Regions from separate parts of the Homo sapiens genome. Here region 1 is linked to region 2. Evidence: promoter capture Hi-C in 16 types of primary human blood cells and fetal thymus (Javierre and others, 2016). All regions are on one chromosome and are shown on one strand. Each heading gives the region's core, a stretch centred on a gene start or on the middle of the fragment in contact. The rest is flanking DNA. Distances are from core to core; before and after follow the strand shown. Region 1 overlaps COL18A1 (collagen type XVIII alpha 1 chain). Region 2 holds the start of POFUT2 (protein O-fucosyltransferase 2).

Region 1 (3,357 bases), core at 721-3,220, 170 kb after region 2:
TGCTGGGGCGTGGGGGGCGCTCAAAGGGAGGGTGAACCCTGTGGTCAGCACACAAGCAGGGACCCTGTGGAGGGTTTTGCTGTGTTGTGGGCTTGTCCCTCAGGTCCACGAGGAAGGGAGTGAGGCCCCCTCACACGGGAGGGCCGGGGTGGGGTAGGGAGGCTCCCTTGCTGCAGCTGCCAAGAGTGAGCGAGCGGGGCTTGGGCTTGGGCTGCCCGGGACACTGCCTCCAGGAAGCCCCCTGGGCTGTCTCAGTGGGACTCTGTGAGTGACACATGGAGCTCAGGTCACAAGGGCTGTGGGAGTGTCACCCCACAACAGCAACGGGTGCCTGGCCCTCTGGACTTTGCTCTCTACACCCCTCCTGAGCTCTCACAAACCCTGGCCCCTGGGACCGGAGGCAGGTGATGTTTCCAAGGAGTCCTACAGGCAAGCATCCTCTGACCTGGGAGCTGCGTATTGTTCCCGTTTACAGGTGAGAAACTGAGGCCTAGGAAGGACAGACACGTGTGCGTGCCGCAAGTGTGGCTAGCAAGGAGGGAGCCTGGAGGAGGGCCCAGCAGCCTGGCCCCAGAGCGCTCTTCAGCATCGCAGCAGATGCAGGACAAGCAAGCTCCCAGCCGGGGAGCACCAGGAGACCAGCAGGCATCCACCCTCGTGGTGCAGGCCATCTGATGAGGGCAGGGACCAGTGCCGGGATGGATAGTGCCTGTGCACAGAGTGGGGCGCAACTGGGCACAGCTGCCACCGGGGTGCTCGGGAGGCAGGTCCACACACACGCCGGCCAAGTCGCTCATCTCAAATGCACGAGTCCCGTGATCTTGGAAAGTGGTGCACAGGCCCCTGGGCTGGGGCTTCCTCTGCCTCCACCCCCATCACTGGACATTCGGAGGTCAGTGGGAGGCCACGGGAGTGCACGTGAAGGTCATGTCACCATGATGGCCCCGAGGGGCTGCTCCTTCATCGCTCCTCCCTACCCCATGGGCCAGCCACTGGCACACAGGTGTCCTTATATGGTGCTTACCTCTTGCTCCTTTAGTCAAATGCAGAATTTGAGAAAATGTCCCTTCTCCTTAAAATGCTTTGATTTGTTTGATGTTTCCATGTAACTTTGGTTTAAGAAGGGAGAAGACCACTCTGGGAAATAACTCATGCTTATCTCTCACCGCTTGGCAACCTACAAATATTTTTTCGATGATGCTGGCTAAGCTTCTCGTAAATTCTCCATGCCTCTTAGATGCACCAAGAGTGACTCAGCATTTAACTCCTACTGGAGTGTCAAGGGCCCAGTGCATTGGGTGCAGTTGTCTGTGGGTACAAGATCTTGTGTGATTCTGAACTAAGCACAGACAGAATGAAAAGCACAGCACTCCAAACAGGGCTTCCTGCAGGTCCTTTTACGTATATTTGGGTTTTTGTATATATCTAAGGTCAAGCTAGTGGACATCTATCACTTCAACCAGTTACCGTTGTGAGTGTGGTGAGAAAACTTAAGATCTACTCAAGTTTGAAGTGCCATATGCGATACAGTATTCTAGCTGTAATCACCATGTGTACATTAGACCTCTAGAACTTACTTTTCCTGCATAACTGAAACTTTGTACCCTTCGACCAACAGTCACATTTCCTCTTCTCTGTGGGCTGGCCTCGGCTGTGCCCTGTTAGCATTCCCAGATAAACAAAAGCTAAGGGGGTTAATTGCCACTAGACCTTCCCTGCAGGAAATGGTCCAGTAGTCCAACAGGCGAAATGAAAGGACACTACTCAGTAACAGTAAGTCAAGGAGGCCCCCGTTGCCTATGCACAGAGTGGGGTGGCAGCTGTGCCCCATTGCACCCCACTCTGTGCATGGGCACCGTCCATCCGGCACCAGTCCCTACCCCTTATCAGATGGCCTGCACCATTAGGGTGGACACCTGCTGGTCTCCTGGTGCCCCCCTGCAGGGCTCTTCCTTGTCCTGCATCTGCTGCAATGCTGAAGAGCAGTCTGGAGCCAGGCTGCTGGGCCCCCCTCGAGGCTTCCTTGCTAGCCACATCTGTGGCACACACGCATATTTGTCCTTCCTAGACCTCAGCCCCTGACAACCACCATTCTACTCTGCTCCTATGAATGTGACTTTTTTAGATCCCACATGTGAGATCATGCAGTATTTGCTTCTATGCCTGCCTTATTTCCTTTAGTTTAATATCCTCCAGGTTCATTCATAAAAAGTGCAGTTACAAACTGTTGTTGCAATACCAGCTTTTATAATTGCCCATGTATTTACCTTTATTGAGATCTTCATTTCTTCATGTGACTTACTGTTATTGACTAGTGTCCTTTCATTTTACCTGCTGGACTCCCTGGACCATTTTCTGCAGGGCAGGTCTAGTGGCAATTAACTCCCTTAGCTTTTGTTTATCTGGGAATGCCAATTTCTCCCTCACTTTTGAAGGACAGTTTTACTGGATATAGGACTCTTGGTTAACAGTTTTTTTTTTCTTTTAGTACATTGAATATATTGGTCCACTGCCTTTTGGCTTCCAAAGTTTCTGTGACAAATCTGCTGATAATCTTATTAAGAAGCCCTTGGATGTGATCAGTTGCTTTTCTCTTGCTGCTTTCCAGATTCTCTCTCTGTTTTTGAAAGTTTGATGATAATGTAACTTGGTGTGAGTCTCTTTGAGTTTACCTTACTTGGAGTTCCCTGAGCTCTTAACTGTTTATATTCATGTCTCCCAACAAATTTGAGAAGCTTTCAGCCATTATTTCTTCAGATAGTCTCTCTGCACCTTTCTTTTTCTCTTCTGTTTGCAGCTTCCACGGCATGCATGCTTCCTTGTCTCTTGATGGTGGCCACAAGCCCCTTAGGCTCTTTTCACCTTTCTTTCATCTTTTGTCTTTGAAAATTTCCATTATCTTATCTTCAAGCTCATTAATTTATTCTTTTGTCTGCTCAAATCACCTTCAGATTCCTCTAGTGATGTTTTCAATTTCAGCTATTGTACTTTTCAGTTCTGTAATTTCTTTCTGGTTTCTTTCAAGGTTTTTATATTGATATTTCCATGTTGTTCATACATCACTTTCTTGACTTTCTCCACACCTTCCTGTAGTTCTTTGAGCATCTTTAAGACAGTCATTTTAAAGTCTTTGTCTAGTAGATCTGCCATCAGGTCTTTTGCAGAGACAGCTTCTGTTAATTTATTTTTCTCCTTTGAATGTGCTATATTTTCTTATTGCTTTGTGTGCCTTGTGATTTTGTGTTAAAAAGTGAACATTTGAACTCAGTAATGTGGCTCTTGAATTTTGCCCTTCACCAGCGTTCGCTTTTTTTTGTTACTTTTTAAAAAATGTTTTGTGTCTGTGCCAGAAATCTC
Region 2 (3,633 bases), core at 714-3,213:
AGCAGGGAGAAGGAGGACCACAGGTCTCAAATGCTGAGGTTTCTGCACGGAAAACCCGACTGCTCACAAGTCTCAGCGCGTGGCCCGACTCTAGGCACTTAACAATGGTTCCTAGTTTGTGAAGGCAGTGAGTGGCCTGTTTCTCTATGACCAGTTACTTACGGAGCCTGTAAGCAGAAGCAGCAGACATGCTAACATCGTTTTAACAATTAGCAATAGTTCAACACTAAGGCAGAGGAATCCCAGTGACTGGAACCCAAGAATCAGTACCCACATGGTTCTCAAACTGTTTGGTTTAAAGACCCCTTTACACTGGAAACAATGACTGACGGCTGGTTATGTGCACTATGTCTATTGATACGTCCTATGTTAGACGTTAAAGCTACAAGTATTTAATTCAGCTAAAAATAAGAAGCCATTACATGTTAACAAAAACCACATATTTAAATAAAAAATAAGTGTATTTTAAAAAATGAATTAGAAGAACTGTGATGATGTTCTTAATTTTTGCAAATCTCTTTTGGGTTTGGTGACAGCTGGATTCCCATACCCGTTTCTGCATTCAATCTGTTGTGACATCACAGATCAAGTGGTTTCTAGGAAAACTCCACAGTGCATTCATGAGAAGTGAAAAAGGCGTATAATACTCTGGTACTACTATTAAAACGGCTACAAAAGCTCAGAGATCCAGGACACACTTTAAGATCACTGCCCTAGAGGAAGGACACAAAGCGCCCCAAGGCACAGACAAGTCCCCAAGGCACAGACAAGTCCCCAAGGGCTACAGAAACCCTGTCCCTGGCGCTCTCCTTTCCCTGCTCTGCGCTGGTTTTCCATACTCCCATCGTCGCGAGTGAAGCTGCGTGCAGCGCCCAGGCCTGCGAACGCCACGAGGGGCCGTGCACACCTCTGCGTCCAGGCCCCTCCCGGGGTCCGCTTGGAGATCCCACAGCCACAGGGCGGCCGCGAAGCTCGTCTTGGCCCTGAGAATTCACTGCGGAGCGCCCGCCCGGCACTGACTCCCGGCTCCGCACACCCAGGCCTGGACCCGTGTCACTTGCAGGGGCCTCCGGAGCCAGCCCACGCTCAGCCTGAGCAACCCGGCCCCCTTCCTGGGCTCCCGAGGCTGCGCCCCGGGCCTCGCAGACGACCCCGCCTGCAGACCCGGGCCGCAGTGACGCAGCCTCGACTACAGCCAACCCGCTGGCCCGACCCTGCCCCCAGCCCCCGCCCCATCCCATCCCCCAGACTCCAGCCCGGCCCCGGCCCCTGCCCCTGCCCCTGCCCCTGTCCCGTCCCCGTCCCATCCTTCTTGGCCCCGGCTCCCGCCCCGCCCCCATCCCATCCCTCGGGCCCCCGTTCCTGCCCCCATCCCATCCCACCCCTCCTGGCCCTAGCCCCTGCCCCGCCCCCATCCCATCCCATCACCCTGGCCCCTGCCCCGCCCCCATCCCATCCCATCGCCCTGATCCCTGCCCCGCCCCCATCCCATCCCTCCTGGCCCCTGCCCCCTGCCCCTATACCATCACCCTGGCCCCTTACTCCGCCACATTCCTTGCCCCAGAACCCTGACCCCATCCCATTCCCCTGACCCCTGCCCCCTGACCCCGCTCCATCCCATCCCCCTGGCCCCTGCCCCATAACTCCGCTCCATTCCATCTCCCTGGCCCCGGACCACCCTCCATCCCGTGGGCCTGCCCCTGACCCCATCCCATCTCCCTGGCCCCTGACCCCGCCCCGCCCCCATCCCATCCTCTGACCCTGCCCGGTCCTGGAACCCCAGCGTTGGCACCGTGGACGCGCGTTTACCGTCTGCGGGAAGCCGCCCCCGACAGAATATCGGCCGCCGATTGTCCGGGCCAGAACTCCTGGCCGGAGGCAGAAGCCGGAGGCCAGGACACTGCCCCCAGCAGCAGGAAGACGAAGCTGAGTGTCGCCATGGCCCCGGGCGGCCACGCACTTCCGGCGGCCGCGCCCCGCCCCGGAACCACGCCCCGCCCCCGTGAAATGCGTTCCCAGTAGCCACGGCAACGCCCAGCTCCGCCCTCCCCGCGCATGCGTTATGCGCCATCACCGGCAAGCAGGGGCGGGAGGGGGAACTGCGCGTGCGCAGAGTCTCCGCCCTCCTGACCGCAGCGGCTAGAGGTTCCATTGCAGACCCGGAGGCCGTGGCTGTGGTTCGCGGCGGTGCTGTCGCGGGCGCCCTGGCGCAGCCCACGCAGGGGCTCCTGAGGGTCCGCGAGGCCGGGAGGTCCGGGGGTCGGGAGGTCCCGGGGTCGGGAAGTCGGTGGACCCTGCAGGCCAGTGGGGAGGGTACGCGAGACTGGGGGCCGGGAGGGCTGACGGCTGGTGGCGCGGGGCGGGTCCGTGGGGAGGAGGCCCGGGGCTGGTAGGGGCGGGAGGGCTGGACGGCGGGGGCGGGGCGGAGGAGGGGGTCCGTAGACGGGGTCGGCGCCGGGTGCTCTCGCCCCTCTGGAGCTGGGGTCGGGGCGGGAGCCGCGCATGAGAGCCTGGGTTTCTAGTCGGGGGGCGCCGTCGAGCTCCACACCTGCGGCCTCCTGGGTGCCCCCAACCCTGGAGCCCCGGCGAGGGGGCACCCGGGCTGAGGCCTGGCCCTCCAAGGAGCCCTGGAGGGACTGTGCTGCTAGGGCGCGGGGCTCGATGGGGTGATCTGGAGACCTGGGGGGATCCGGGGCTGCCGCCCCTGCGCTGCCAACCTCCCACCCCGCCCCTTCTGCGAGGCGTTATTAAAGGTCTGGTTTCGGGAGCCAGGTGCGTGCCCGCCGCCGCCGCTCCCCGCAGCCTCCAGGCAGCTCCCGCTGTTCCCCGAGGGCACCAGCACTGGCCGACCGACCTGGCTTGGGGCGCGGCGCTGGCAAACCCGGCCTTCTGAGGGGACGCCACGCTGACTCTAGTGCAGGCAGCCCCCAAAACGGTATAATTGGACGAATTTCTTGAAGGATGCCAGTTACCAAAAAAGAAAATACTAATGCTTATTATCTGTTAAATTTGAGATCAATTTGTTATCAAATTTTCTCACACAGAAAATTCCAGGCCCAGAGGGCCAAGCTGGTGAATCCTACTTAGAGAAGAAATAATAGGAATCCAGCCACTCAGACGATGGACGAGGAGGGGCACTTCCCTGCTCGATGTATGGGCCAGCATTGCCTTGATAGCAAAGTCAGACATCACCAGACAGTAGAACCACAGACCAATGTCTTTCATGAACCAAGACACAGCATTTAAAAAAATTAGCAAATGGAATTTATATCTGCCTATTGTTTACAAAAAAAGCCAAACTTTGTAAAATACTTGAAGAGATTTATTCTGAGCCAAATATGACCCATGACACAGCCTCAGGACGTCCTGAGAACTTGGCCCAAGGCGGTTGTTTTACTGCTTGGTTTTATTCATTTCAGGGAGACATAAGACATCAGTCAGTACATGTGAGGTGTGCATTGGATTGATCCAGAAAGTCAGGACGACTCCAAGTGGAAAGGCCTCCAGGTAATAGGTGGATTCAAAGATGTTTCTGATTGGCAGTTGGTTGAAAGAAGTTACTATCTGAAGGCTTGGAATCAATAGAAAGGAGTGTCTGGGTTAAGAGAAGGGGCTGTGGAGACCGAGGTCCTT

The links. Contacts are between HindIII fragments. The CHiCAGO score rates a contact against its expected background, and 5 or more counts as called.
Region 1: a fragment that was not itself captured here is called in contact with the fragment with the promoter of POFUT2 in region 2 in 1 of 17 cell types (endothelial precursors); the score reaches 6.9 in endothelial precursors.

The regions. Positions count from the first base shown.
Region 1 is chr21:45,459,584-45,462,940 of GRCh38, forward strand. The region is part of intron 2 of COL18A1 (collagen type XVIII alpha 1 chain); the gene reads left to right. Among named protein-coding and RNA genes, the nearest start is that of MIR6815, 17 kb to the right of the region's middle. The HindIII fragment of the contact is 1,526 bases long and covers 1,208-2,733 here.
Region 2 is chr21:45,285,932-45,289,564 of GRCh38, forward strand. POFUT2 (protein O-fucosyltransferase 2) reads right to left here and starts at 1,964. Exons shown (of 9, transcript NM_133635.6): 1 at 1,810-1,964. The coding sequence starts at 1,940. It overlaps LINC00205 (long intergenic non-protein coding RNA 205), which reads left to right and starts at 2,121. Exons shown (of 3, transcript NR_026943.1): 1 at 2,121-2,313; 2 at 3,420-3,507. RefSeq lists a silencer at 1,891-2,420 and an enhancer at 2,575-3,305. The HindIII fragment of the contact is 9,019 bases long and covers 1-3,633 here.